Linked DNA regions of Homo sapiens: all the other regions are linked to region 4. Evidence: promoter capture Hi-C in 16 types of primary human blood cells and fetal thymus (Javierre and others, 2016). All regions are on one chromosome and are shown on one strand. Each heading gives the region's core, a stretch centred on a gene start or on the middle of the fragment in contact. The rest is flanking DNA. Distances are from core to core; before and after follow the strand shown. Region 1 holds the start of TMEM238 (transmembrane protein 238). Region 2 holds the start of SBK2 (SH3 domain binding kinase family member 2). Region 3 holds the start of COX6B2 (cytochrome c oxidase subunit 6B2). Region 4 overlaps EPS8L1 (EPS8 signaling adaptor L1).

Region 1 (6,722 bases), core at 1-2,500, 300 kb before region 4:
TAGCCCCGGCACCTTTGGATATTTCCGGTCTTCGTAAGCCCTCGCGGTGATGGCCAATGAGGGCGCCGAGGCCCGCTCGGGTATTTTCGGAACCCTCCGGAAACGCTCTTGGGAGAGGTGTGTATGTTCGGAAATACTCCGTCTTCATTCGGAATCCCTCGGCTAATCCTGGCAGCCCTCTTGCAGTTCGCCCTCCCCAGGGTTTTCTTGAAATAAAACTCTTAAACTGTTTAAGCCTGGGGAGAACCTACACGGAAACTTCTCGCTGACTGCCACCCCAGGGGAGCGCGGATGCCCTCTAAGGGAGAATTGTTTGGAGGGAGGGAGATTTGCATGTGGCTTCTCTTGGCTCCCTTTAGGATTCTATAGATTTGCCGGTCCTCTTCCCTGCCCTCCACCTGTGCCTCCAGCCTATGGTGTGCCTGTCACACCCCATCAGCTCCCTGGGAGGTTATGATCCGTTGTCAGGGCCACCCTAAGGGGGCAGGAGCCTTGCCTGATATTTCTCTGTGTCCTCGGCCTCACCCACGCGGCATGGTGCTGGGGAGGCCTCAGAGACTCCTACTGAACAAAAGGAATGAGGGTGCCTGTGTCACCTCCCCAGGGCTCCTTAACTTGCGGTTACACCCGGGCACTCCTTGGGGCAGGGGCTTCGTCTGGTCCATAGGACTATCCTCCATAGGACAGTCGGGGTTCGCCCAGCTTCCTCCACGGGTGCGCTCTGGACCTGATGGGTCTCGTCCGTCCTTGTGCCCGTGGCTTCATTCGCTGAACACAGGAGACCCCAGAAGACACGCGCTGAGTGAAGGAAACTCAGCTTCCGCGGAACCCGGAGCTTCCCCTCTTAGATCACCCCGACTACTGGTTCTCGCGTCCCAGAGCTCCTTGGTGTCTAAAGGCCTTGTCTGATCTGCACTGTCTGATCTGCACAGGCTTCGGGAGGCGGACACTGAGCAGAAACAACGCCACGCCCGGCTCCGAGTGTCCCATGCTGCCACCACTAAAATGCCCTGATTTTTGGCCATATGTGACCTCCCTGGGTGGCACGGGCCCTAGGCACCCGTGGCTGTGCGCCTGGCTACCACCAGCTCAGGCCTCTGAGCAATAGCCCCTGCACGGAAACCACGACCAGGGTAACCCCGGCCGCGCCGGTTCGCGCCCAGCCCGGTTCAGGTGACCAGGCGGGAGCTTGGCACACCTGGCGCCGTCCCCTGACCCCGCCCCGGACCGGGCCGCACCCCGGAACGCTCTCTCTGGGCGCCAGCGGCGGCGGTGCAGGGCCATGGCGGCGGCGCCAGCGGTGTGCGCCTCGCAGGGGAGCCCGCCGGGTGCACCGTCCGCGCCGGCGGCCGCGCCAGCACCCGCGGCCGGCCTGGGCCGCTGCCGGATGGCGCTGCTGCTGGCCGTGGCGCTGGATGTGGCGGGCATGGCGGCGCTGCTGACCGGCGTGTTCGCGCAGCTGCAGGTGCGCGGCCGCGACTTCGGGGACCTGCTCATCTACTCGGGCGCGCTGCTGGTGTTCCTGAGCCTGCTGGGCTGGATCCTCTGGTACACCGGCAACATCGAGATCTCGCGCCAGGAGCTGGAGCGCGACTACGGCCTGCGGCCCTCGGCGCTCGCCCGCCTGGCGCGCAAGCTCTCCCGCCGCTGGTCGGCGCCCGCCGCCGCGGGCCAGCGCCCCGCGCCCGGCTCCCGGAGAGCGCGCCGAGCCGCCCGCGCGCCCCCGCCGCCCGCCGCCGGCTCCCGCCGCGTGCGCCTGCAGCTCGCCACGCTCGAGGCCGGGCCCGGGGCGGCGGGCGCGGGCAGCGAGTGAGGCCCAGGTGAGGGGCGGGCGGGGCAGGGCGGGGAGACGGAGGGACCGAGGGAGGGACGGGAATGGAGACAGACGGGGGAGCGATGGACAGATGGAGACAGAGAGCGGCCATGGGGAGGTAGAGTCCCAGGGCGGGGTGGAGACAGGGACGGGAAGGCTCTGGCGGAGAACCGCAGACACAGCAAGCACAGGTGCATACGTGGGGGAGGCTGTGAGACCCTGCCCCTGGAGATGGGAAGTGTGGGGGTCGAGTCACACAGTTAGGCCCCCCGCACGGGGAGAGCCCCAGCTTCCAGGTACACCAGGCCCCATTTTTTGTTTTGTTTTGTTTTGTTGTCGTTTGGGGTTGTTTTGAGACAGGATCTCTCACTGTCACCCAGGCTGGAGTGCAGTGGCGTGATCTCAGCTCACAGCAGCCTCGACCTCCTAGGCTCAAGCAGTCCTCCCACCTGAGCCTCCCAAGTAGCTGAGAATACATGTGCGCCCCACCTTGCCGGGCTAATTTTTGTATATTTAGTAGAGACGGGGTTTTGCCATGTGGGCCAGGTTGGTCCCCACCTCCTGAGCTCATGCGATTTGCTCTCCTCAGCCTCCCAAAGTGCTGGGATTACAGGCGTGAGCCACTGAGCCCAGACCAGGCCCCATTTAATCCTCTCCATGTAACTGGTCTCCAAGGTCACTACTATTACCATCCCCATTCTGCAGTGGAGGAAACTGAAGCGCAGAAAGGCGCCACATTTGCCCAAGGCCACACAACACGTAGGTGGAGGAGCTGGGATTCTCCTGACCTGTAGGCCTAGGAAAAGAGGAGCTGGGATTCTCCTGACCTGTAGGCCTAGGAAAGGAGGAGCTGGGATTTTCCTGACCTGTAGGCCTAGAAAAGGAGGAGTAAGAAGGACCAACAGCAGGAGAAATGAAGCCACCACACATTCACTCCCCTTTCCCCTCTACCTTCTATCTCTTTCCTAAACACACCTTTCCAGCTAGCCTGCCTCTGCTCAAAGACCTGCTGTGGCTCCCTCTTCACCTTTGGTTAAACTGAAGCACTCACTGGCCTGTGGACCCCCCATATTTTGGCCCCATTTCTCCTGCCTCTCTGCACTAATGGTGTCTCTTAGTCCACAGATAGCCAGTTGGTCCCTGTTCCTGCTCTTCTCTACACCAGGAGTGCCCTTGGCTGTCTCCACTCCACCCAGAAAACTTCTCACATGTTTAAGATTTAACTTAATTTCTCTGGGTCTTCTCTGGGTCTTCATATTGTCTGAGCGACCCCTCTTGCTGCTTATATGGCCATGTGCTGTGTCTATGTTGTTACTGTCTCTCCCACCTGACAGGGAGTGCCTTGAGGGTAAGACCTAGGTCCCTAGCGTCCTTGTTCCTAGCATTGCCCAGCAAAAAGTGTGAAATCAGGAAAGGTTGATGGTTGGGTAGGGAAGTGGAAGGATGGATGGAAGAACGGATGGCTGGATGGGTGGATGGGTAGATGGATGGGTGGATGGATGGATGAGTTGGTTGATGGATGCATGGGTGAATGGATGATAGATTGATAGATGGGTGGGTGGGTGGATGGGTAGATCGATGGGTGCGTGGATGGATGAGTTGTTTGATGGATGGATGGGTGAATGCATAGATGGGTGGGTGGTTGGATAGGTGGATGGGTAGATGGATGGGTGGATGGACGGGTGAATGGACAGATGGGTGGGTGGGTGGATGGGTGAATACATGGGTTGGTTGATGCAGGGATGTGGTTGGATTGACGGATGGATGGGTTGTTTAATGGGTAGATATGGGTAGGTGGTGAATTGGGCAATGAACCATGAATGGATATGGTTGGAGAGGGAGCCCTGCCTGATAAAGGGGCAAGAGCTTTTCCTGATACTTCTCTGTGTCCTCGGCCTCACCCATGCAGCATGGTACTGGGGAGGCCTCAGAGACTCCTACTGAACAAAAGAAATGAGGGTGCCTGTGTCACCTCCCCAGGGCACCTTAACTTGCGGTTACACCTGGGAACTCCTTGGGGCAGGGGCCTCGGCTGGTCCATAGGACTATCCATAGGACAGTCAGAGTTTGCCCAGCCTCTGTGCGCTCTCTGGATAGATAGGTAGATGGGTGAATGGGTAGTTGAATAGATGGTTGGGGCTGAATGATAAGTACACAGATGAGTGGATGAATGCATTTAATGGCACATGGATGGTTGGGTGACTGAATTCATCTCTCAAATAGGGTTTTGGTAAAAGAATTAAACCCTATTATCCTAGGACGTTCTATGTAGGTAAATAATTAACTTTTTTTTTTTTTTTTTTTTTTTTTGAGATGGAGTTACACTCTTGTTGTCCAGGCTGGAGTGCAGTGGCGCAATCTCGGCTCACTGCAACCTCTGCCTCCCGCGTTCAAGCAATTCTCTTGCCTCAGCTTCCCGAGTAGCTGGGATTACAGGCATGCACCCCCACACCTGGCTAATTTTGTATTTTTAGTAGAGACGGGGTTTCTCCATGTTGGTCAGGCTGGTCTCAAACTCCCGATCTCGGGTGATCCGCCCACCTCGGCCACCCAAAGTGCTGGGATTACAGGCGTGAACCACCGTGCCCGGCTGGAATTAACTTTTCTCCTATGCATCCAGAATGCTACCAGTTATATATTATTCTTTGTGAGATTTGGGGAAATAGTCACCCCAATCATATGCTACGTGCCGTGATTCAGTGAAGGAACTGGGGTAAGAAAGCATGAACATCTGCTTGCACGGGTGAAGCGTAAGCTAACATGAAGCTTGGCATAGAATGCAAACATAAGCACCTGTAGTTACTGTTACCTTTGGAAATCCTGGCTGAGCACAGTGGCTCATGCCTGTAATCCCAGCACTTTGGGAGGCCGAGGTGGGAGAATTGCTTGCTTGAACCTGGGAGGCAAAGGCTGCAGTGAGCCAAGATCACGCCACTGCACTCCAGCCTGAGTGACAGAGTGAGAACCCGTCTCAAAAAAAGAAAGAAAAGAACATCCTTTATGAGGTTGGGCATGGTGGCTCATGCCTGTAATCCCAGCACTTTGGGAGGCCGAGGCGGGTGGATCACCTGAGGTCAGGAGTTCGAGACCAACCTGGCAACCATGGTGAAACCCTGTCTCTACTAAAAATACAAAAATTAGCCAGGCATGGTGGCGGACGCCTGTAATCCCAGCTACTAGGGAGGCTGAGGCAGGAGAATCACTTGAATCTGGGAGGCGGAGGTTGCAGTGAACCAAGATCGTGCCACTGCACTCCAGCTTGGGCAACAGAGCAAGACTCCATCTCAAAAAAAGAAAAGGAGAGGAGAGGAGGGGAGGGGAGGGGAGGAGGGGGGAAGGGGGAGGGGAGGGGGAAGCAGGGAGGGAAGGGGGGAAGGGAGGGGAGGGGGAAGGGGGAAGGGGGAGGGGACGGGCAAGGGGGGAGGGGAGGGGGGAAGGGGGGAGGGGAGGGGAGGGGAGGAGAGGAGAATCCTTTACGTAGCTTAAACGTCTAACACAGCTGCACAGGCCTCCACTCTTGGAGCCTCCACCAAAGACTCAGACCACACTGACTCGAACGTAGGCCCCACTTAGAGGAAAATGGGCCTGTTCAAACCCAGGACTCTTGTTTACTGGGGAGAGTGAGCAGCTTCCAGCGCATGAAAGACAGAGAACCTGAATTTTAGCAGAGGGACCCACAGGTTCTGGCTCTGGTACCCCCACAACCTCCGAGACCACCATGAGTAGCCGGGCAGAGCCACCCCCATCACTCTGTTGTTCAGGCTGGAGAGCAGTGGTGCAATCACAGCTCACTGCAGCCTCCACCTCCTGGGCTCAAGCAATCCTCCCACCTCAGCCTCCCAAGGAACTGGGACTACAGGTACCAGAGACGGGGTCTTCCTATGTTACCCAGGCTGGTGTCAAACTCCTGGGCTCAAGTGATCCTCCTGCCTGCAGCCAAAATGCTGGGGTGAGGGTCTGAGATGAGGACCACGATGCCCGGCCTCCTTCTGTCTTCACTGTGTCTGCCTGTCTCCCTCTCTCTCACTCTTTGTCTCTGTGTCTCTGTCTCCCAGGTCTCTTTCTTTGTCCCTGTGCTTCTGCCTTTCCCCTTCTGCATGTCTTCGTCTCCCCCTTTCTGCCTCTCCCTGGCTCGCATTCCCTGGCCTCTACCCTTGGATTTCAGGGCGTTAAAGGTACACACGCATGCACACACTCAGCAAATGGGGGCATGCAGGGATGAAGGAGCAAGTGTGTGAGTCCATGTGAGCGGCAAGGGCAGGCGGATGGGGCTCCCTGCCTCTGCCCCCGCAGGCAGAGAGCCCGGAACAGGGATGGGAGGGGTTCCTGAGCAGTCGCTCACTCCACCCTCCCTCCTGCAGACAACCCCTTGGCTCCAGCTGTCAGGACCAGACTGAGATGTGCAGCTGCCCCTACATCCGTGGCCAGACGGACGCTCCCTGTACCCCCTCCCTCCTCACTTGGATAAAAAGCAGATTTGCCTTAGTGCTGCATGTCTGTCTGGGAGAGGGACCCTGCTGGGGTGGGAATGGAGACGAGGTGGCTTGCTTCCTTCTAGCACCCAGGTGGGCCTGGCCACACCTGAGGTGAGGCTGCCCCTGCCCTGGGGAGACCAGGAGCCCTGGGGATATAGGAGCCTAGCCTTATGCTGGCCCCTTCTCAGAGGGGGCCAGAGAGGGGGCGGGGGATAAGGATCTTAGCCCAGACCCTCCACTCTAAGCCCCAACATCCCTGTGTGAGTTTGGGTTCACTGAGAAGCAGACACAGAGACAAACTGGACTTGCAAGATATGTCTTGGGGAAACACTTTTGTAGGGTAGCTTGGTGCAGGGAGAGGGAGGGAGGGATGGGTAGGACTAGTCTTAGACTGTACCGCACCTCCAAGAAAATTGCCACTGGCCCCTGGGGAG
Region 2 (6,567 bases), core at 1,354-3,853, 460 kb before region 4:
GTCTCTTTCTGACTGTCCAGGCTGGACCTGGTCTTCTCCATATTTAGATCCTTCCCAGTTCTGCTCCCACAGAGCACCACGGATTGTGATTGTCCCAGCTCCGTCCCCCTTTCTCAGACCCGTCAATCCTAAGAGCCAGGCCTGGTACCCATGGGTCTCCTTCCTCACCAAGGCCAGCCCGCGCCCCGCAGTCCCATGGCACCTGCCAGACAGGACACGGAGCCTGGCTTGTGGAGGTTCACGCCTGCAGGACGGGGATGAACTAGATCCAAATCCAAGACCCCAGCACCCAGCGGAGGGTCCAGAACTGGAAACTGTGTTTCCTAAGCAGGAAGGTATGCTTCCAGGCTGGGAAGTGAGCTCACTACATACGACACGGCATCCTGGGCTCGATCCATCGTGGAAGCGCTGCTGAAATAACAGTCTGGTGTTGGCCCAACTGTGAGCCTCGTAGTTTTGACAAATGTCTCACGGTTTGCATCGCGATGCCGACACCAGGGGAGGCTGGGGGAGGGTGCATGGGAACTCTCCGCAGGATCTTGGCAACCATTTTATAAACCTAAAATGATTCCAAAATAAAAAGTTTATTTAAAAAAATGAAGTGACTTCACATCAGTCATGGCAGTATAAACCTGAAGGGTGGGCCAGACACGGTGGCTTATGGCTGTAATCCCAGCACTTTGGGAGGCTGAGGCGGGTGGATCACCTGAGGTCAGGAGTTCGAGGCCAGCCTGACCAACATGGTAAAACCCTGTCTCTACTAAAAATATAAGAATTATCCAGGAGTGGTGGCAGGCACCTGTAGTCCCAGCTACTCTGGAGGCCAAGGCATGAGAATCGCTTGAACCTGGGAGGTGGAGATTGCAGTGAGCTGAGATTGGGCCACTGCACTCAGCCTGGGCAACAGAGCAAGACCCTGTCTCAAAAAAATAAAAATAGCCCAGGCACAGTGGCTCACCTCTGTAATCCCAGCACTTTGGGAGGCTGAGGCGGGTGGATCACCAGGTCAGGAGATCAAGACCATCCTGGCCAACATGGTGAAACCCTGTCTCTACTAAAACATACAAAAATTAGCCAGGCGTGGTGGCAAATGCCCGTAATTCCAGCTACTCGGGAGGCTGAGGCAAGAGAATCACTCGAACCAGAGAGTTGGAGGTTGCAGTGAGCCGAGATCACGTCACTGCACTCCAGTCTGGGTGACAGAGCGAGATTCCGTCTCAAAAAGCAAAAAAAAAAAAAAAAAAAAGAAATAAAAAACCCTGAAGGGTGGGTGCAACCGTCCCAGAAAAAAACAGGGGTCTGAAGTCCCACTGTGGCCCAAGGCTTGGGGACTTCCTAGTGGGGCTTAATCTCCCTGTGCTTACAGCAGGGAGGCACTCACTGGCCTGTATTCCTGTTATGCGCTTTCAAACTATTTTTATTGTTATTCCTCTCTTTGGAATCAGGAGCCCTCAGGCCCTCCTCCCTCAGACCCAGGAGTCCAGGTCCTCAACCCCCTCCTCCCTCAGGCCCAGGAGTCCAGGTCCTCAACCCCCTCCACCCTCAGGCCCAGGAGTCCGGGTCCTCAACCCCCTCCTCCCTCAGACCTAGGAGTCCAGGTCCTCAACCCCCTCCTCCATCAGGCCCAGGAGTCCGGGTCCCGTGTAGAAAATGAAATCATTTCTGGAACCCACCCCTGCCTTGACCCCACCCAGCTGCCCCATCAATGCCCCATTGACAGGTCAGACACAAGTGCTTGGAGAGGGGTGTCCAGGGGATCAGATGCTGGGGTCTAGTTTGGGGAAAGAATGAGACAATGAGATTCCAGAACGATGCAGTGTGGGATGACCTCAGACTCAGAGGGGCGGGAAGCAGGTGCTGGAGCAACTGGGAAGAGAGGCCTTGAGGGGGTGGGGAGGCCTCAGTTCTGCCGGAAAACTTCAGATGGGTGGGGGAGGCTGAGGCCTGGACTCCTGGGTCTGAGGGAGGAGGGACTGGGGCCTGGACTCCTGGGTCTGAGGGAGGAGGGGCTGGGGCCTGGACTCCTGGGTCTGAGGGAGGAGGGGCTGGGGGTCTGGACTCCTAGGTCTGAGGGAGGAGGGGCTGGAGACCTGAATTCCTGGGTCTGAGGGAGGAGGGGCTGGAGACCTAGACTCCTGGGTCTGAGGGAGGAGGGGCTGGGGTCTAGACTCCTGGGTCTGAGGGAGGAGGCACTGGGGGACTGGATTCCTGGGTCTGAGGGAGGGAAAGCTGGGGGCCTGGATTCCTGGGTCTGAGGGAAGAAGAGCTGGGGGCCTGGACTCCTGGGTCTGAGGGAGGAGGGGCTGGGGCCTGGACTCCTGGGTCTGAGGGAGGAGGCACTGGGAGACTGGATTCCTGGGTCTGAGGGAGGAGGCGCTGGGGGCCTGGACTCCTGAGTCTGAGGGAGGAGGAGGGGCTGGGGCCTGGACTCCTGGGTCTGAAGGAGGAGGGCTCAACTCTTGGGTCAGGGTATTCACCTGACCACAGCCAGTTCCAGGAGTCATCACACGATGTCGCTCTGCTCCCAGTGGGGGCAGAAGGGGCGGGCCCAGGGGCGGGGCCTTACGACCCCCAAAGTCGGGGCGGGGTCTTGCTCCTAGGCAGGCCTCTGCTGGCATGAGCCCTAAGTGCCGGGCACTGACCACAGCCGGCGGCCGGAGGGTCAGGAGGGCCTTGGAGGAGGTGAGGTCTGGAGGTCTGAGCCCAGGTTGGGAGGTGGGCAAGGTGCCCTGGCCTGAGGTGGGCAGCACCTGAGGGTGACTGTACCAGGTGGCCCGAGTCCTCGGTCCCTCAGGGGAGCCTGGGCTGCACCTGGAGGCTGTAGAGCGGTGGAGGGTGAGGGAAACAGAATCAGGGGGTCCCCAGTTGTGTGAATTGTATGAGGTTCCGGGAGAGAGGTGGGCTGGGGGCCTGGACCCCTGGGCCTGGCGGAGGAGGGGCTGGGGGGCTGGGTCGGAGGGAGGTGGGTGGGCTGTGAAAGTGGGACCCCAGGCCTGTCAGGAGCTTGGGGACTGATCCCAAGTGCTCGGTCCCATGCAGGACCCAGGCGTCCCAGGCCCTCTGCACAGCCCGCCCTCCCAGCCCTGAGCCCAAGAGCACCTGTTTGTTCTCAGGAGACAGAGTCTACTCATCCACCCCCAGGGCCCAAGTCTGTTTGCTTTGGAAACAAGATGGGGGAGTCTCAGTTATCTGGTTCATCTTTCAACCTCAGGGTGGGCGGGTGGCGGCGGCGGCACGCGGGCAGGGACATCTGTGACCTGGGGCTTGAACTCACACCAGACTTGTCTCCCCACCTCTCACCAAGAGGGAGACTGAGTCACAATGAGAAGCGCGATGAGCCCCCAGCCCCTCCTCCCTCAGACCCAGGAGTCCAGACCCCCAGTCCCCTCCTCCCTTGGGCCTGGGACCTGAGCCTGGGCACCCCTCTCTGTTCTCGCAGAGATGCCCGGCAAACAGTCTGAGGAAGGGCCGGCGGAGGCAGGGGCTTCGGAGGACAGCGAGGAGGAGGGTCTGGGCGGCCTGACATTAGAGGAGCTCCAGCAGGGCCAGGAGGCTGCCCGCGCGCTGGAGGACATGATGACGCTGAGTGCTCAGACCCTGGTCCGAGCCGAGGTGGACGAGCTCTACGAGGAAGTGCGTCCCCTGGGCCAGGGTTGCTATGGCCGCGTCCTTCTGGTCACCCATCGTCAGAAAGGTACGAGGCTGTGGGGCCAGAGGTGGCAGGGTTCAGCTGGGGGCGGGGCACGGGCCTGGGGTAGCCCAGGCTGGGGAGGCTGGCAGGCCTGAATCAAGTCTTACCTCTGCCCTCCAAAGCTGTGTGTTTTTTGTTTTTTGTTCTTTTGGTTGGTTGGTTGTTTTTGAGACAGTCTGGCTCTGCCGCCCAGGCTGGAGTGCAGTGGCACAATCTCACTGCAACTTCCACCTCCCAGGTTCAAGTGTTCCTCCTGCCTCAGCCTCCCATGTAGCTAGGACTATAGGCATGCACTACCACACCCAGCTACATTTGTGTGTGTGTGTATTTTTCTTTCTTAGTAGAGATGAGGTTTCACTCTGTTGGCCAGGGTGGTCTCGTACTCCTGGCCTCCAGTGATCCGCCTGCCTCAGCCTCCCAATTGCTGGGATTACAGGCATGAGCCACGGTGCCCTGCCAAAAACTGTGTTTTGAGGAACTCCCTTGCCCTCTCTGAGTCTCAGCTTCCTCCTTTGGAAAATGTGGGTGATGATTTCTACTTGGAAGAATGGTGGATCCTCTGAGTGAATGTGGACTGCTCTAGTTGCTGGGGTTGTATAATGCTGGGTAAGACAGAGCTCCCAGCTCAGGAGCCTCCTGTGGCGGCTGTAGTGGTCACCGTGGGATGATGCAGAGTGATGCTGTCTGCTAAGCACTTAGCAAGGCCGGCACACAGTGGGTGCGCAGGACAGCTCCCCACTACCCTGGGCCTTTCTGCCAAGCACCGTGTCCTTCCATGAAACGGAAAATAGGGAGGCAACCTGAGGTCAGTCAGTTCAGGGCACGCCTTCTGAGGCCAGCCCTGTGCTGGGGGGGTTGGGCGGGCAGTGGACCCAGAATTGAACCAGAGCCAGTCCCTGCCTTCAAAAATCTCCTAGCATGAATGCAGAAAAAGTGTGCATTCATCTGCTGGGGCTGCCATAACAAAGGCAGGCGCTTCCACAACAGAACTTTTGACTTTTTTCTTTCTTTTTTTTTTTTGAAATGGAGTCTCGCTCTGTTGCCCAGGCTGGAGTGCAGTAGCACAATCTCAGCTCACTGCAACCTCCGCTTTCCAAGTTCAAGTGATTCTTGTGCCTCAGCCCCCCGAGTAGCTGGGATTACAGGTGCATGCCACCATGCCCAGCTCATTTTTGTATTTTTAGTAGAGATGGGGTTTCACCATGTTAGCCAGGCTAGTCTTGAACTCCTTATTTCAAGTGATCCTCCTGCCTCAGCCTCCCAAAATGCTGGGATTACAGGTGTGAGCCACTGTGCCTGGCCTTTTTTCTTTTCTTTTTTTTTCTTTTTTTTTTTTTTTTGAGACAGGGTCTCGCTGTTGTCCAGGCTGGAGTGCAGTGGCACAATCATAGCTCACTGCAGCTTTGACCTCCTGGGCTCAAGGGATCCTCCCACCTCAGCTCTGCAAGTAGCTGAGACTACAGGCGCATGCCACCATGCCCGGCTAATTTTTAAATGTTTTTTTTAAGATGGGGTCTCACTGTGTTGCCCAGGCTGGTCTCAAACTGGCCTCAAGTGGTCCTCCTGCCTCAGCCTCCCAAAGTGCTGGGATTACAGGTGTGCGCCACCGTGCCTGGCCAACAACAGAGCTCTGTTTCCTCACAGCTTTGGAGGCTGGAAGCCCGAGATCAAGATGTCAGCAGGGTTGGTTCTCCTGAGGCCTCTCTCCTTGGCTTGCATTTGGCCGTCTTCTCCCTGTGTCCTCACATGGTCGTCCCTCTGTGTGTGTCTGTGTCCTGATCTCCTCTTCTTATAAGGACACCAGTCACATTGGATGAGGGCCTGCCCACTCTAGTGACCTCATTTTACCTCTTTAAAGACCCCATCTCCAAATACAGCCACATTCAGCACTGGGGGGGTTAGGACTCCCACATACGAGTTTTGGGGATACACAATTCAGTAATAACACAGAGGGCAATAACACAGCCACACAACAGCACACCTCAGGAAGAGCCACGGATGCAGAGATCCAGCCCTGGGTGCTCACAAAGCCGGAGGCATGAGCAGTAACAGGCGGGGGCATTGCCAATGAGGCCCCTCCATGGCCATTTCACTGAACCTGTATCTGGAGGCCTCCAGCACACCTGCCCCTGGGCTGCATGATGCTGGGGCCCTGAACATGTCACTGTCGTTAAGAAGCTCAGGGCACCGTGGGGAGCATAGATGGGCAGGGATCGCCAACACCGGGTGGCGTGGCCGTGGCGGCAGTGATCAGGAGCGCTGTGAACACGCAGAAGAGACCCCACTGCATCTGGCTGCAGAGTGGGCGGGGATGGCTGGTGTTTTTGATAAGGAAGGAACTTTTTCTTTTTTTTTTTTTTTTTTTTTTTTTTTTTTTTTTTTTTTGAGACGGAGTCTCGCTCTGTCGCCCAGGCCGGACTGTGGACTGCAGTGGCGCAATCTCAGCTCACTGCAAGCTCCGCCTCCCGGGTTCACGCCATTCTCCTGCCTCAGCCTCCCGAATAGCTGGGACTACAGGCAAGGCATGCACCACCACACCTGGCTGATTTTTGTATTTTTACTAGAGATGGGATTTCACCATTTTGGCCACGCTGGTCTTGAACTCCTGACCTCAAGTGATCCACCCACCTGGGCCTCCCAAAGTGCTGGGATTACAGGTGTGAGCCACTGCACTCGGCCTTTCTTTTCTTTTCCTTTTTTTTCTTTTTTGAAGATGGAGTCTTGCTCTGTCACCCAGGCTGCAGTGAGTGGAGTGGTACAATCTTGGCTCACTACAACCTCCGCCTCCTGGGTTCAAGCAATTCTCCTGCCTCAGCCTTCCGAGTAGCTGGGATTACAGGCATGTGCAACCACACCGGCTAATTTTTGTATTTTTT
Region 3 (7,321 bases), core at 608-3,107, 270 kb before region 4:
CCAGCACTTTGGGAGGCCGAGGAGGGTGGATCACGAGGTCAGGATTTCAAGACCAGCCTGGCCAAGATGGTGAAACCCCATCTCTACTAAATATACAAAAATTAGCCGGGCATGGCGACGGGTTGCAGTGAGCTGAGATCGTGCCACTGCACTCCAGCCTGGGCAACAGAGCGAGACTCCGTCTCAAAAAAAAAAAAAGTTAACTAGGCATGGTGCCATGTGCCTGTGGTCCCAGCTACTCTGGAGGCTGAGATGTGAGGACTGGTTGAACTGGGAAGTCGAGGCTGCAGTGACCCACCATCGTGCCACTGCACTGCAGCCTGGGCAATAGAGTGACACCCTGTTTCTTTTCTTTTCTTTTTTTTTTTTAGAGATGGGGTTTCGCCATGTTGGCCAGGCTAGTCTCAAACTCCTGACCTCAGGTGATCCATCCGGCTTCCCAAAGTGCTGGGATTACAGGGGTGAGCTCTATTGCCAGGCTAGAGTGCAGCGGTGTGATCGTGGCTCATGGCAGCCTTTATCTTCCTGGGCTCAAGTGATCCTCCTGCCTCAGCCTCCAAAAGCCCAGCCAAGTTTTTGATTTTTTTGTAGAAAAGAGGTCTCACATGTTGCCCAGACTGAAGTGCAGTGATGCCATCACAGCTCACTGCAGCCTCAAGCTACCCAGGCTCAGGTGATTCTCCTGCCTCAGCCTCCTCAGTAGCTGGAACCACAGGCACGCACCAACACGCCTGGCTAATTTTGGTATTTTTTGTAGAGATGGGGTTTCACCATGTTGTCCAGGCTAGTCTCAGACTCCTGGACTCAAGCAATCCTCCCGCCTCTGCCCCACAAAATGCTAGGATTACAGGCATGAGCCACCGCACCTGGCCGGGATTCTTAATTCGTACATTTGGCTGTCAGTGTAAACAATCCTGAGTCAGGCCTGATATTAACCAGGCAGGAGGGAGAGAAGCTTAGCAGGGATCTAGAGGTGAAACCACCTGCCCAGATTCCAGTTACTTGTCTGCCCCTAGAGCCAAGACTCATTGATTCCGCCTCGGATTTATTGTGCATTTACTACTGCCAGACTCTGCCCCAGGCAGATACAACAGTGAGCCAAACACACAGCAAGACCCGCCCTGGGGGACGCTCTCCTAAGCCAGGCATCTGCAGCTCTTAAAGCCCTGGGTACCCCTCTCTCCCTACCCTGTCCCCCAAAGCTCTCTCTGGCTTGCTTTCTCCCTGCAGCCTGCAGCACTCCCAGCACTCCGAGTGGCCGGATGCGGGGGCTTAACCTCAGTTGGAAACTGTCCAGAGGAGCCCAGCGCTGCCAGGTACCCTTTAAGACCCTGGAGATCTGCCTTAGACCTGGGGGCGGGGGGAGGGGGGCGAGGGAGGAGGGTGGGGGGGGCGGGTAACGGAGGGGGGAGGACGAGGGGGGCGGGGGGGTTCCCAGGAGCCCGGACCCCACCGCTGCTCTTTCCTCTTAACCCCACAGGCCCCGAGGGTTCTGTGCGCACCGACTGTAGGAAGCGGAATGTTGAAAGCCGCTTGGGGGGATTTGCCCCCTCTGGTAGATACCAGAACTATGGATATGCCTTTATATATTGGGGGGCGGGGGGGGGCGGGGGCGAGCCCGTGGAGCCGCCCAACTTCGCAGAGATTAAAGCTTGAGCCTGAGACTCAGCGAGTCGCACCTCGGTGCCTGTGTGCACGCGCAGGCCCCCGAGGGGGCGTCGGGGGAGCAAGGGGTGGGGTGGGGGCGCCCCTACCAGCCCCGCGGTGCACGACGGCTCCCATTGGCTGGGGCTCGGGCGTCCTAGCCAATCCGGCCGCGGGGTGCGTTTCTCCTGACCCGGGTGGGACCGCACCCCGCGGACTCAGAAGCGAGCGGCACCCCGGGACCATCCCACAGCAGATCCAGTGGCCGCCAACGTCAGGCTGGTGAGGGCACGACGGGTGGGGTTCAGGGGCGGGGGTCAGGATGGGGAGACGGGTCGGAGCGAGGGCGCCCCCTCGGCCCCACGGAGTCCCCGTCCCGTCCCGTCTCGCAGGAGTTGCCTCCTTCGTGGATGTTGGATGTGGAAGCCCAGGAGCCCCCCAAGGGGAAATGGTCGACGCCGCCCTTCGACCCGCGCTTCCCCAGCCAGAACCAGATCCGTAACTGCTACCAGAACTTCCTGGGTGAGACCTGCTCAGCCAGGTTATGGGAGGAGCAGGGTGTGACAAGGGACGGCAGGGAGGGGCACTCCCACCCTAAGTCCCGCGGAGACCGTTAGGGTGGGAGGCCGGGCGGGGCCGGGTTGGTGGGGGCGGGGCCTGGTCGAGAAAAGGCGGGGCTGAGCCTGGAGGGGCGGGGCGAGGTTGGTAGGGGCGAGGCCTGATCTGGAAGGTGCGGGGCCGAGTCGTGAAGGTGCGGGGCGAGGTAGGTAGGGGCAGGGTCTGGGTAGGAGGAGCAGTGTGAGGGAGGTAGGGGTCGGGGCCTGGCTGGGAGGGGCGGGACGGAGGCCTCCAGGGGAGAGGGAGGCGGGACGAAGCAGCGAAGAACTGGGAGGGCCCGAGCAGTGGAGGGGCGGGTCCTGTCCTGGAATGGGCGTGGCTTGCCGCGTGACCCCCGCCCGCCACAGACTACCACCGCTGCCTCAAGACCAGGACCCGCCGCGGGAAGAGCACGCAGCCCTGCGAGTACTATTTCCGCGTGTACCACTCGCTGTGCCCCATCAGCTGGGTGAGTCGGCAGAGGGGGCGCCGGGCCAGGCGTGTGCAGGGCTCGGCCGAGGCTGAGCCGGCGTCCCGCTCCCTGCCTTTCTGCTTCCCAGGTGGAGAGCTGGAACGAGCAGATCAAGAACGGGATTTTCGCCGGCAAAATCTGACTGCCCCAGCGCGGCTTCCTCTGAAGATGCAGTGATCCTGCATCTTTTTGTCTCGCGGAGCCCCGGGTCTCGGTTATCCACCCCTACCTCCCAGTGTCTAAGCCACGAATAATGGTATGCTGTTGCTGATGTTTCTTCTTAATGCCCAGCCAGCGATGCGTCGTGGTGGTGGTGGGGATCCTCCGTGTGCCTGTGTCCGGGCTAACGCTGCTTTTTCCGATAAGGGGCAGGTGGGGGACTGCTGCTCCATCAGGTAGCAGCAGGCAGTCAAGGCCCTAAGACAGGAAGCCGAATGCCTCCCGTCCCCCTTCTCCCTCTCCATTCCAGCAGGTAGATGCCTCGCGTTGACAGCTACGAGCCAGCCCAGGGTCCCCAGTTCTCAACACTGTCCCACCCAGATGGCTCCAAGGTGCTCCTGCCTCCAATCACCACACCTACCTCTCACCTCAGTCCTTTCCCTACTCCCCTCCTGCCTGGACCATCTCCCCAGGCTCCTTCCCCATCCCACCCCTGATCCATCCCATCTCGGGTCCTGAGGGGTCTTCTTTGTACCACCCAGCGCTGACTCCATCCCTTCCTCCCCCACTCTCTGGGCTCTCCACCACTCTCCATCACGACCCCGCTCCCACCTGGCTCATTTCCCCTCCCAGAACATCGAGATCCCCATCATGTGAGCCAGCTTATTTCCAACAGAATCCCCTGGTGTCCACGCTTTCGGCACCCGCACCCACAGCCAGGCGTAGCAGCCTGCTCAGTTCTCCAATGCATCAGGCTCACCCCGCACCCCCACCCCGCAGAGGCCGCTGTCAGTCTCTCCCACCGCACACATCGCCGCAATTTCTCCTGTGACCCCCGCCAGACTGCCAGCACCCAGAGGACGCTCAGAGCTCCCTCGGAATCATTCTTTACTCCTTCCCCATCCCGGCAGTAACACGGAACCGCATTCCGGTTCCAGACGCCCTTTGAAGTCTTGCCTCTCCCCAGGCCAAGGAGTGCCGCTTGACAAAGCCCTAGGGTTCCAGCCTGGTCCTGCTGAGGGAGCCGTGAGACCAGTCAGCCTGGGGTGCTGGTTTTCCCAACGGGTACTCCCTGAGCTATCAGCCTTCCAGAGGGGCTCCTAGGAGGGGGAAGCCCCATCCTCTGACTGAAGCGGTCCTATGAGGCCCTGTTCAACCCCAGGGTTCAAAGGTGACTACAACTAATCATGACAACTTGCAGGGTGACCCTAGACAAGCTTCTTGACCTGTGTGAGCCCGAGGTTCCCCAAGGCAAACCAAGATGGCTCAGGGCCCCATTATCAGAGGAGGTAGGGCTGGGTGAGCTCAGGGGGCTGACTCCATCCTGCTCCCTGCCCCATGATGACCTGTCCATCACCTGCCCTCCATGCTGCCCAGGACACACCCTAGATGAGCCATCCCCCAGGATGACGCCACCTCTGAGATCTTGGTCTCCTGGCTCCGTCTCTGACCACAACCCAAGAATGGGGTGAGGGCACAGGGTGTGGACTCAACTACAGGAGGGCTTCCTGTTCATGCAACGTCCCCAGAGCCTTGACGAATGCACAGAGGCGCTGGCAGAACCACGGGGGCAGGACCCCTCTCTGAGTCACAGAATGGAGCTAAGTTGGTGAGGTCACCCAGGTAACATCCCAAGCACAGGGTGCCACACCTGTGCAGCCACAGCAGCCTCCTGACCTCCCCAGAGCCGTGTCTAGAACCCATTTTTGCCCTGTTGGCCAGCCTTCCTCCTTCCTCCTCCTCCCATCATCCTATCTTCACTGCCTCCAGACCTCATCTCAGCACATTCTCACACTCCCGACCCCCTCTGCAGCCGCCACTGCCCCACTGATGCCTGAGCCAGGGGCAGGGGCAGACCTGCCCGGCCTGGCCTCCAGCCTGGTGGACCATCACCTGTGCAAACTCCGAACACCTCCTCCAGGTGCTCTGGCTGGCTTTCCCTGGTGTCCAGTAGCCGCCTCCTGAGACCCCTAATGCCAGCCTCACAGTCTCAGCAACCTCCCAGGTCAGAGAAAACCAAGGCCACTCTACTTATTCCTGCCCCCACCCAGAACACCTGCATCCTTGTTCGCTCAACATCCTCCTCCCGCCTTCTTTCTCTACTCCTTTTCCTCTTCTTTCTCCTCCTCCAGCCCCATCTCTTCAATCCTTCCATCATCCACTTTCCCCTCCCTCTGCGGTTCTTCCCTCAGAACCTGCTCCGTCCTCCCGGCCTCCAGACCACGGATCCTGAAGGCCACCTGCGCTGCCTCCCCTGCTCACTGTCCCCTGGCTCCTAGGGGCCGCAGCTTCGCCTCCTCTCTCTGGGTTTCCCCCTTTCCCATCCTGAAGGTGGCAGAGCCCGAATGGTTCTGAGAATGAGTTCAATCTAGGCCCTGAAGCTACTAACCATGTGGCCTGGGACAAGTTCCCTAGCCCCTCTGCGCTGTGGCCTTTTCATCTGAAATATGGTAACAATGACATAATAATGACACCTCACTTCCTAGGGTTGTGGGGAGGACGGCGATGTGAAAACATATAAAGCAGTTAGAACAGTGTCTGGCCCCCCTCTTCACAGTGTGTGGGGTCTCTAGCCATAGAGACAATCTGAGTCACTCGAATCAGCATGTCGGCCCAGTTCTGGTGCCCCATATTGTGCTGGACAGTGAGACTGATTGACCGGACAGACAGCCCAGGGATGACCCCATAAACCAGTCCTGGAGCTCTTGGAGGCATCTGGTTACTAGCTTGCAGCATAAAGGGCCAGAGTGCCCCCACAGGGAGACACGGGGTCAGGGTGGGGAGTCCTTGGCCAGGGCCCTGCCTGCCTGCCAAAGGCTGAGAGCAGTTCTAGTGCCACACACCCAGGTCAGTGCTGGTTGTATTTCCTGTTTCACTAAACTTCTTTCCACCTTCACCTACAGCCACCAGCCTTCGAGTTCCTTGTTTCCCTTGCTCTGGTCTCCACGTGTATGATGGGGTTCTCAGGCCCAGGCTTCGACCAGAGGACCCTCTGCCACCACCGTTTCTTCCTGTCCTTGAGCTACCTTGGTGAACTCATGACCCCAGGCCCCTGCTCCACCAGGATGTCCCCCAGGTCCTGCCAGCTGGGAAGTGCCAGCATGAACGCCTCCAACTTCGTGGAAGCCAGGGTCCCCTGCAGCTGAGGGACGCCAAGCAGACACACCTGCCCTCCCCAGCCAGCTCCTGTCTGTATGGGCGAGATGACTGAGAGCGCCCACGTCCCTAAGGCTGTCCTGACCCTCCATGCTGCGACAAGGACAGGGAATGGTCGGTCACTATGGGCCTGGTGTCTCCCCTCCCCCACCACCCGGTGCTGCCCAGCTCAAGCCAGAAGCTGACTTTGGCCGCCATGGGGACATCAGGCAAGGTCTGGAGACATTTTTGGTTGGGGCAGAGGCATGCTCCTGGCATCGAGTGGGTGGAGACCAGAGAAGCCGCTCAACATCCTGCAATGCATGGGACAGGCCCTGCCTAGAAACACCAGCTCAGCATGGCAGCAGTGCGGAGGCCAGGAAACCCTGATCGCCAGTTTCTAACGCCCTCACCATTTTTATTTTTATTTTTATTTTTTTTGAGACAGAGTTTCGCTCCTGTCACCCAGGCTGGAGTACAATGATGCGATCTCAGCTCACTGCAACCTCTGCCTCCCGGGTTCAAGTGATTCTCCTGCCTCAGCCTCCCGAGTAGCTGGGATTACAGGCATGCACCACCACGCCCAGCTTATTTTGTATTTTTAGTAGAGACGGGGTTTCTCCGTGTTGGTCAGGCTGGTCTCAAACTCCTGACCTCAGGCAATCTGCCCACCTCAGCCTCCCAAAGTGCTGGGATTACAGGCGTGAGCCACTGCACCCGGCTCACCACTAGTTTTTAGCCCTTTTTGTTGGGGGTGGGGTGGGGGCAGAGGAGAGGCGGATACAGAAACTTGTGAGAATGTGATGAACGCTCTGAACCCCCTATAAAAAATGTGCATGTAAATATATACTCTCAACATTTAAAAGATTTCAGAAGGTTCCTGGAAATTCCAATGTCCACCCATGAGTCCTCAGCTGAGACTCCCTGCTCCGCTGCCCTCTTTGTCTAAGAGCTGTGGCAACAGCACCTGAATTTCAGAAACAAAAGGCCGGGCGCGGTGGCTCACACCTGTCATCCTAGCACTTTGGGAGGCAGAGGCAGGAGGATCGCTTGAGCTCAGGAGTTCGAGACTAGCCTTAGCAACACAGTGAGACACAATTGCTACAAAAAGATTTTAAAATTAGTTTGACGGGGTGGCGTGTGCCTATGGTCCCAGCTACTCAGGAGGCTGAGGCAGGAGAATTGCTTCAATCCAGGAGGTGGAGGTTGCAGTGAGCCGAGATGGCGCCACTGCACTCCAGCCTGGGCCACAGACCCTGTCTCAAAAAAAAAAAAAAAAAAAAAAGGAAAGAAACGAACAGCATGGCTTCAGTT
Region 4 (6,824 bases), core at 3,394-5,893:
TGAGCCCCCACTGCTTGGTAGAACCATGACTTGGAATGTTCTTTCCTCCCCCAGGGACCTAGGAGTCCAGGTCTCAAGCTTCAATCTTATCCTTTTAACCCTCAAACCTTTTAACCCAGTCCGACACCCAGCAGCGACTTAGACAATTGCATTAGAGCCTCTGGAAAACCAAGAGTTTAATCGTCCAGCCTTTACCCCTCTCGGGGGCCCAGAGATACTACCACTTCCTAACTTTCCCAGAAACTTGCCCCCAAGCCCTTGAAGTCCCAAGCCTGCTCCTCTGGGTCTCCAGGATCCCAAGCACCAGACTTGGGCTCTTCTTCAAAACCCAAAGGTCCAATTCCCCAGCCTCTCCCCTCCAATATCCAGGGCTCTGTCCTCCTAGGGAGCCCAGGCATGGTGCTTCCCAGGCCCTGGGAAAACAAACTGGCTTCTTCCAGCCTTTTGGGGATCCAGGGATCCAACCTCTCAGACTTTACCCACTCCCAGCCCCCTTCCTCCCTTAGGCCCAGGAATCCGGGTCTCCATTCCCAACTCCCTTAGCCCCAGAAGTCTGGGTCCCGCCCCCTCCCACCCTGCTCCTCCCTCTCTCCCAGCCCCGGCCCGCCCCATCACCATCTCACCCACCTGAGAAGAGCCAGGAAGACAGAAGGAAAAACACAGAAAAAAAGGGGGCGGAGTCAGCATCGGGAGCCCCCGGGACGCACCCCTCCTTGACCCCCTTGCCCTGCCCTGGGGCGGACACTCACCCATTGACAGCGACCTGGGGGGCGCTTTGCTGTAGGAAGTAAGACAGTCGGGTCAGGCGGGGCCAGGCGGACCGGCCGCGCCCCCGGACTTCCCAGCCTCGGCCCTGCTGTGTCGCTTGGGTCACCTGCCGGCGCCTCCGCTCGTGCTGTAGCTGTTTCTCAACTGGGTCCTCCCAGGCGCGGCTCTGCGGGTCAGTGACCGGCGGCTCCCAGCCGCTGAAGAACTCGGGTCTGTATGGGGGTCCCTCCTCCGGGGACAGCTCCAGCCTGCGGCCAGGGACAGGGCCAAGAGCTCAGGGATCCTGATACAGCCCCCAACTTCGTTCCTGCATTAACTTCACTAAGTTTTCCCCTAAAGCTCGCTGTATTCCAACGATTCTAGCCCCGCCACTTTTCACCAAGTCCTGCCGGTAGCTCTAAGCCCAACTCAACAGCAATTTATATTTCTAGACCGGGCACGGTGGCTCACGCCTGTAATCCCAGCATTTTGGGAGGCCAAGATGGGAGGATCGCTTGAGGCCAGGAGTTCCAGACCAGCCTGGGCAAAATATTGAGACCCCATCCATCTCTCTCTCTGGAAAAAAATTGCCTTATCCAGCCTCTAAATCTCACCTGATTCCAAATCAGGTTTTCCGTAAGGTCGGTTTCAGGTTCTGACCCTTTCCCTGCGGAACTGCCAGCCCGCAGTGCACAGACTCTGTCCCATCACCAAAGTTATAGACCAAACCTTCCAGAAGCCCCGCCCCTTCGCGTAGCCCCGCCCCTGCCCCGTAGCCCCTAGCCCCTCTATTCCTTTAAGCCCCCCTTTTCTTTCAATCCGATTGGTCTGGTGGTCTTAAATCTTTCCTTCACGTTAATTCCTGGCCTTTCCTCCAATTGAATCTTGGCATCTGTCCTAAGCCCCGCCCCAACACAACTAAGCCACGCCTCTAACCCCTCCCTACTCTCCTAGTCCTATTTTCCAATCATCATGCCACCCACCTCCCAGCGCCTTATGCTCCTCCAATCACCATGCCCCCTGCCTCCCAGCCCCGCCCCTCACCCGGGGCGGGTCCACGAGTCCCCCAGCGAGGTCCAGAGCTCGTTTTCACGTGGAGTGACGTTGTCCCGCAGCAGCGCCACGGCATCCGATGTCAGATGCGGCCGCCGCACACTGCTCGCGAACTCCGGCCCCCCCGACGTGTTCACAATCTGTCAGGGGAGCAGGAGGGGCAGGCTGTGCCGCCACACCTTCTACAAGTCGAACCCGATTCCTCCCGCTGCAGGGGGGCCCGAGGGCCTGGGGCGGGTCTCACCATCTGCAGAGGCCCGAAAAGGAAGTGCAACAGCTCCGGAGAGGAGGGGTCGGCGATGTTGCCGCGCAGCCGGGCCTGGGGCGTGGGGAGGGAGGTGGTTGGCGTGGGTGCGGGGACGGGACAGGTTCGTCGTGCCCGCGCCCCGGCCCAGGGGCGGGCGCGTCCTCACCAGCAGGCTGAAGGCGTACTTGATCTTCTGCAGCACGTCGGTGTACTCGGCCTCCGAGGGCGGCTTGGCCCGCAGCGTCAGCAAGCCCTCTGAGGGGAGCAGACGGGCGCGGCGATGGGGACGCGGGGCCAGCACCAGGCAGGCAGAGAGAGGTGGACACCCGGTTAAGATGGCGGTGAGGTCAGCCCTGGCAAGTGGCGGGAGGGGAGAGCCTGGGGAGAGCGGGGACATTTGGAAGAGATCGGGAGGGGGTTCAGATCCCACGCCAGGGTGCCCCTTACCCCCAGCCGCCCGGCGCCGGCTCCTGCGGCCGCGTTCCCGGTGCTCCAGCACCCTGGCCGCCTCCGCCGACTTCTGCAGCCTCGATACAAAGCTCTCTACGTCGTCGAACACGTGGTTCAGGATGTCCTAGGGGACAGAGGAGGGGGACGCTCAGGGCTCCCGAGTTCCAAAACCATCCCCGTCGAAGCCCTGAACCTGAGCACCTATACACTTCCCCAGATCAGGCCACGCCCCAAACACCTGGCCACGCCCCACAACCAAGCCCCGCCCCCGACCCAGCCCCTCTTCCATAACGCAGAAGTCTGACCAGAGAACGCCCGTCCCGCAGCCGGCCCCGCCCTTCCACGCCCTAGCCCCGCCTCCAGTCGCCTGGCCCTGCCCCCAGACCCCTTCCTTAGCGGCTCACCACTTCCCGCTCCGCCTGCAGAACCGCCAGGTCAGGACCCCGGGGACCCAGGTCCGGGGAGGCCGAGTCAGCGTTGCTCGAGGTCCCCACCGGCTCAGGCCTCTGCGCCTCCTCTGCCTCGGGAATGGGCTTCGCCTGGGGTCGTCCGCGGCCCGCGCCCCGCTCTACGGTGCTGATCACTGCGCGGACTGACGGGCGGCGCTGCAGGGGCGGGGTCTCAGCGGCGGGCGAGCGGTCGCGCTGCAACTCCTCCTGCGTGGCCCTGCGGAGGGCGACGGGGACACCAAGACTGGGTCCACTGAGGGGTCCAGGGAGGGGGAAATCCAGGGCGCAGAACGAGACACACAGGCTCAAAAGGCTCAAAGGGAGTGAACAAGTTCAACGAGGTAGGGAGAAATCCGATATACGGAGGGATAGCACCTCTCTAGAGTGAAACTGAGGGCCTGGACAGGGAACAGAGAAAAGAAGCAGAGTTCTGGAGAAGGGGTCAGCTCGTCTGGGAGGTACAGACAAGACTCGACTAGGGTGTGCTTGACTCCATGCAAAACTCTTGTTCTGTTCCAGGCTGGTGTTGTAGACTGAGGCACAAGGAGGGGAAACCGGCTTCCCAGAGACCCTGCCAACTTCTTCCCTCTCACCTGAGCGCCGCCGCCCTGCGCTCCCCGCGGCCCGAGCGGTAATTGTGCAGAGCCCCCTGGATGTCCTCTCGGATCAGCTCCGCCTGCCAATCACACCGTCAGGCCACGCCTCCCCACGCCGCACCCACTTCCTACCCGGGCCTCGCCCCTGGCCGATTTTTCAGCTCAGTCCCAGCCCACGTGCGGCTACCGTTCACACCTGTGAACCCACGCACGTCCACGCCCCGAACTCACCCCTCGCCCTACACCTGTCCCTGCCCTAAGCCACGACCCCGCCCATGGAGACCCAGTCCGGGTGGTTCCTCGCCCCCACCTCGTCCTGGCTGCTCCCCCAGATCCTTCTTGGCCATGTTCTGTTCATGTCCTCATCCCACCTTCATGTTCTATCTTGACCCTGGGTCCAATCTCAAACCCCACTGCCTTCCAGAACTTCCTTCCCAGGTCCCCTGCCCTTCCTTGCTCTGATCCCGCCTTAGCCCCAGGCCCCGCCCCACCTAGAGGCCCCACCCATTTCCGCCCCGGCTCCAGGCTCCGCCCAGTTCCAGCTCCACCCCCAGAGCCAGCCCATCTGCTCACCCCGAGGCGCAGGCCCTGGAAGAAGTGCACGTCGGGCTGCGCGCGCTCGGGTTCCTGGCACACGAGCAGCAGCAACGAGCGGCTCCTGCCGGGTGGCATCACCGCGTCACAGCGCACGATGGCGCCCAGTGGGTACGACTCCAGCTCCTCCTGCCGGGTGGGATGGCGGGGTAAACTGAGGCCCCGAAATGATGGTACTACTAAATGGCGACGGGAGTGTGGGCCAGCAGGTCAGGGCAACCTCAGGCGGTTAGGGGGTTAGGGATAACAGCCCTGTTTAATAGATGAGGCTATTAAGGCTCAAGAAGGGGGCTGGGGTCCCTCGCCAGAGTTCCCAGAGGAAGGACGTGCAGGAGCCAAGATTCACACCCAGACCCCCTGAAGTCCCTGCCCCAGACACTCCTCCCACCCACGTGCCCCCCGGCACCTTGGAGGCCGGGTCGAGCAGCGTGACATGGTCGGGAGACACTCGCAGCAGCATCTCCTGTGCCCAGACTCGGCCCTGGCTATCCATGACGGCCAACTTCCTGGAGGCATCCTCCACGGTATGCACGCCATCGTCCTCACCCAGGCAGAACGTCACCAGGTGCTGGTACGGACCATGGAGAAAGCAGTGAGGCCCAAGATGATGCCAGGTGGGCTCAGAATCCCCCAGAATAATCAGACTTTCAGCCTGAGACTAACCACACCTCCTCCAGGAAGCCTTCCTTGATCACCTGTTCCACAAATCAGCTCCTCCTCCCAGTGCCCTTTGTTTCCCTTTCATCAGAGTGACTAGCACCTGAGTCTGGCTTCTCACAGACTGGAGGCTCCTTGCGGGCAGGGAAGGAGTCTGGATTATAGCTCTCTCCTTCTAAATGCCTCCTCGGGTCTCCTGCCATGCCCCCTGCCACCTCCATTAGAGCACCAGGCGCCTCTGTGGATTCCTCTGGACCTTGTCTACCCCTTCCTCATGCAGGGCTGTGTCTTGATTTGCCTCCGTGGTCCCACTGTCCAGCACAACAGCTGGCCTGGAGGAAAGGCTGGCAGATTAAGTGGACCCGAGGCCCCTGGCTTCATATCCATGACTGAGGTGAGGCAACGGAGGTCCATTTTATGGATGGGCAAACTGACTTTCCACATGCTTCCTGCTTGGGGGCCTAGCTGCTTTCAAAAGCCCTATCTCCTGAGGCCACCTTTGCCCCAGAAGATGTCCTGGGGGAACACAGACCCCAGACTCACATTGACTGGGTACTGGGATACATCAGCCATAACAACTGTGGAGTAACGCTTCCTCTGCTCTGCCAGGGGAGAAAGAGAATGAGCCTGGGAGTCCAGGCCCAGCCCCTCCTCCATCAGACCCAGGAGTCCAGGCCCCCAGCCCCTCCTCCCTCAAACCTAGGAGTCCAGCCCCCCAGCCCCTCTTCCCTCTGACCCAGGAGTCCAGGCCCCCAGCCCCTCCTCCCTCAAACCCAGGAGTCCAGGCCCCCAGCCCCTCTTCCCTCTGACCCAGGAGTCCAGCCCCCCAGCCCCTCCTCCCTCTGACCCAGGAGTCCAGACCCCCAGCCCCTCTTCCCTCTGACCCAGGAGTCCAGGCCCCCAGCCCCTCTTCCCTCTGACCCAGGAGTCCAGGCCCCCAGCCCCTCTTCCCTCTGACCCAGGAGTCCAGCCCCCCAGCCCCTCTTCCCTCTGACTCAGGAGTCCAGACCCCCAGCCCCTCTTCCCTCTGACCCAGGAGTCCAGCCCCCCAGCCCCTCTTCCCTCTGACCCAGGAGTCCAGCCCCCCAGCCCCTCTTCCCTCTGACCCAGGAGTCCAGCCCCCCAGCCCCTCTTCCCTCTGACCCAGGAGTCCAGCCCCCCAGCCCCTCTTCCCTCTGACCCAGGAGTCCAGCCCCCCAGCCCCTCTTCCCTCTGACCCAGGAGTCCAGGCCCCCAGCACCTCTTCCCTCTGACTCAGGAGTCCAGGCCCCCAGCCCCTCCTCCCTCAAACCTAGGAGTCCAGCCCCCCAGCCCCTCTTCCCTCTGACCCAGGAGTCCAGACCCCCAGCACCTCTTCCCTCTGACTCAGGAGTCCAGACCCCCAGCCCCTCCTCCTCCAAGACCCTGGATGCCAGGTCCTGTTTCTTTAGACCCAGTTCTATGGGCCTGGGGCTCCCTTGCCCCCCGCTCACCATAGATAGACTTGGCGCTTGGCTTTGGGGCAGCTTCTGGGCTGGTGAAGAAAAGAGGAATGAGAGAGACTGTGGGACTGGGGGCAGATCCTGTGGAAATGCCAAGCAGGGCAGCAAGGGCTTCATGACGAAGGTAATGGGGAGCGATGGAAGGGTTATTATTATTATTATTATTATTATTATTATTATTATTATTGAGCAGGAGAGCTCAGAGCCAGAGCTGGACTTTAAGAAGACAGGTAGGCTGGGCGCGGTGGCTCACGCCTGTAATCCCAGCACTTTGGGAGGCAGAGGTGGGCGGATCACAAAGTCAAGAGATTGAGACCATCTTGGCCAACATGGTGAAACCCTGTCTCTACTAAAAATACAAAAATTAGCTGGGTGTGGTGGTGGGCGCCTGTAGTGCCAGCTACGTGGGAGGCTGAGGCAGGAGAATCACTTGAACCTGGGAGGCGGAGGTTGCAGTGAGTCCAGATCGTGCCACTGCACTCCAGCCTGGCAGCAGAGTGAGACTCCATCTCAAAAAAAAAAAAAAAAAAAAAAAGACAGGTCAGGTCAG

What was found. The method cuts DNA at HindIII sites, captures the fragments that hold promoters and counts their contacts. A CHiCAGO score of 5 or more calls a contact.
Region 1: the fragment with the promoter of TMEM238 here is called in contact with a fragment that was not itself captured in region 4 in 10 of 17 cell types (total CD4 T cells, naive CD4 T cells, activated CD4 T cells and 7 more); the score reaches 11.1 in total CD4 T cells.
Region 2: the fragment with the promoter of SBK2 here is called in contact with a fragment that was not itself captured in region 4 in 1 of 17 cell types (naive CD4 T cells); the score reaches 5.6 in naive CD4 T cells.
Region 3: the fragment with the promoter of COX6B2 here is called in contact with a fragment that was not itself captured in region 4 in 1 of 17 cell types (fetal thymus); the score reaches 6.4 in fetal thymus.

Annotation. Positions count from the first base shown.
Region 1 is chr19:55,378,820-55,385,541 of GRCh38, reverse strand. It overlaps TMEM238 (transmembrane protein 238), which reads left to right and starts at 1,250. Exons shown (of 2, transcript NM_001190764.2): 1 at 1,250-1,820; 2 at 6,175-6,298. The coding sequence starts at 1,283. The coding sequence ends at 1,813. RefSeq lists enhancers at 565-634, 665-734, 688-1,650, 5,747-6,247 and silencers at 1,025-1,364, 1,655-1,744. The HindIII fragment of the contact is 6,498 bases long and covers 1-4,581 here.
Region 2 is chr19:55,533,169-55,539,735 of GRCh38, reverse strand. SBK2 (SH3 domain binding kinase family member 2) reads left to right here and starts at 2,603. Exons shown (of 4, transcript NM_001370096.2): 1 at 2,603-2,682; 2 at 3,440-3,694. The coding sequence starts at 3,442. RefSeq lists a silencer at 1,700-1,994. The HindIII fragment of the contact is 39,425 bases long and covers 1-6,567 here.
Region 3 is chr19:55,349,255-55,356,575 of GRCh38, reverse strand. COX6B2 (cytochrome c oxidase subunit 6B2) reads left to right here and starts at 1,857. Exons shown (of 5, transcript NM_144613.5): 1 at 1,857-1,926; 2 at 2,037-2,166; 3 at 2,610-2,710; 4 at 2,802-2,969; 5 at 5,776-6,872. The coding sequence starts at 2,055. The coding sequence ends at 2,855. It overlaps GARIN5B (golgi associated RAB2 interactor family member 5B), which reads left to right. Exons shown (of 11, transcript NM_001145402.2): 10 at 1,231-1,316; 11 at 1,481-1,668. The coding sequence ends at 1,276. RefSeq lists silencers at 2,273-2,322, 2,433-2,542. The HindIII fragment of the contact is 2,438 bases long and covers 1,654-4,091 here.
Region 4 is chr19:55,077,570-55,084,393 of GRCh38, reverse strand. EPS8L1 (EPS8 signaling adaptor L1) reads right to left here. Exons shown (of 20, transcript NM_133180.3): 3 at 6,266-6,306; 4 at 5,337-5,395; 5 at 4,543-4,704; 6 at 4,116-4,265; 7 at 3,540-3,622; 8 at 2,902-3,163; 9 at 2,495-2,621; 10 at 2,214-2,302; 11 at 2,045-2,119; 12 at 1,792-1,940; 13 at 875-1,016; 14 at 750-778. Among named protein-coding and RNA genes, the nearest start is that of EPS8L1, 5.1 kb to the right of the region's middle. RefSeq lists an enhancer at 3,140-4,097. The HindIII fragment of the contact is 9,126 bases long and covers 81-6,824 here.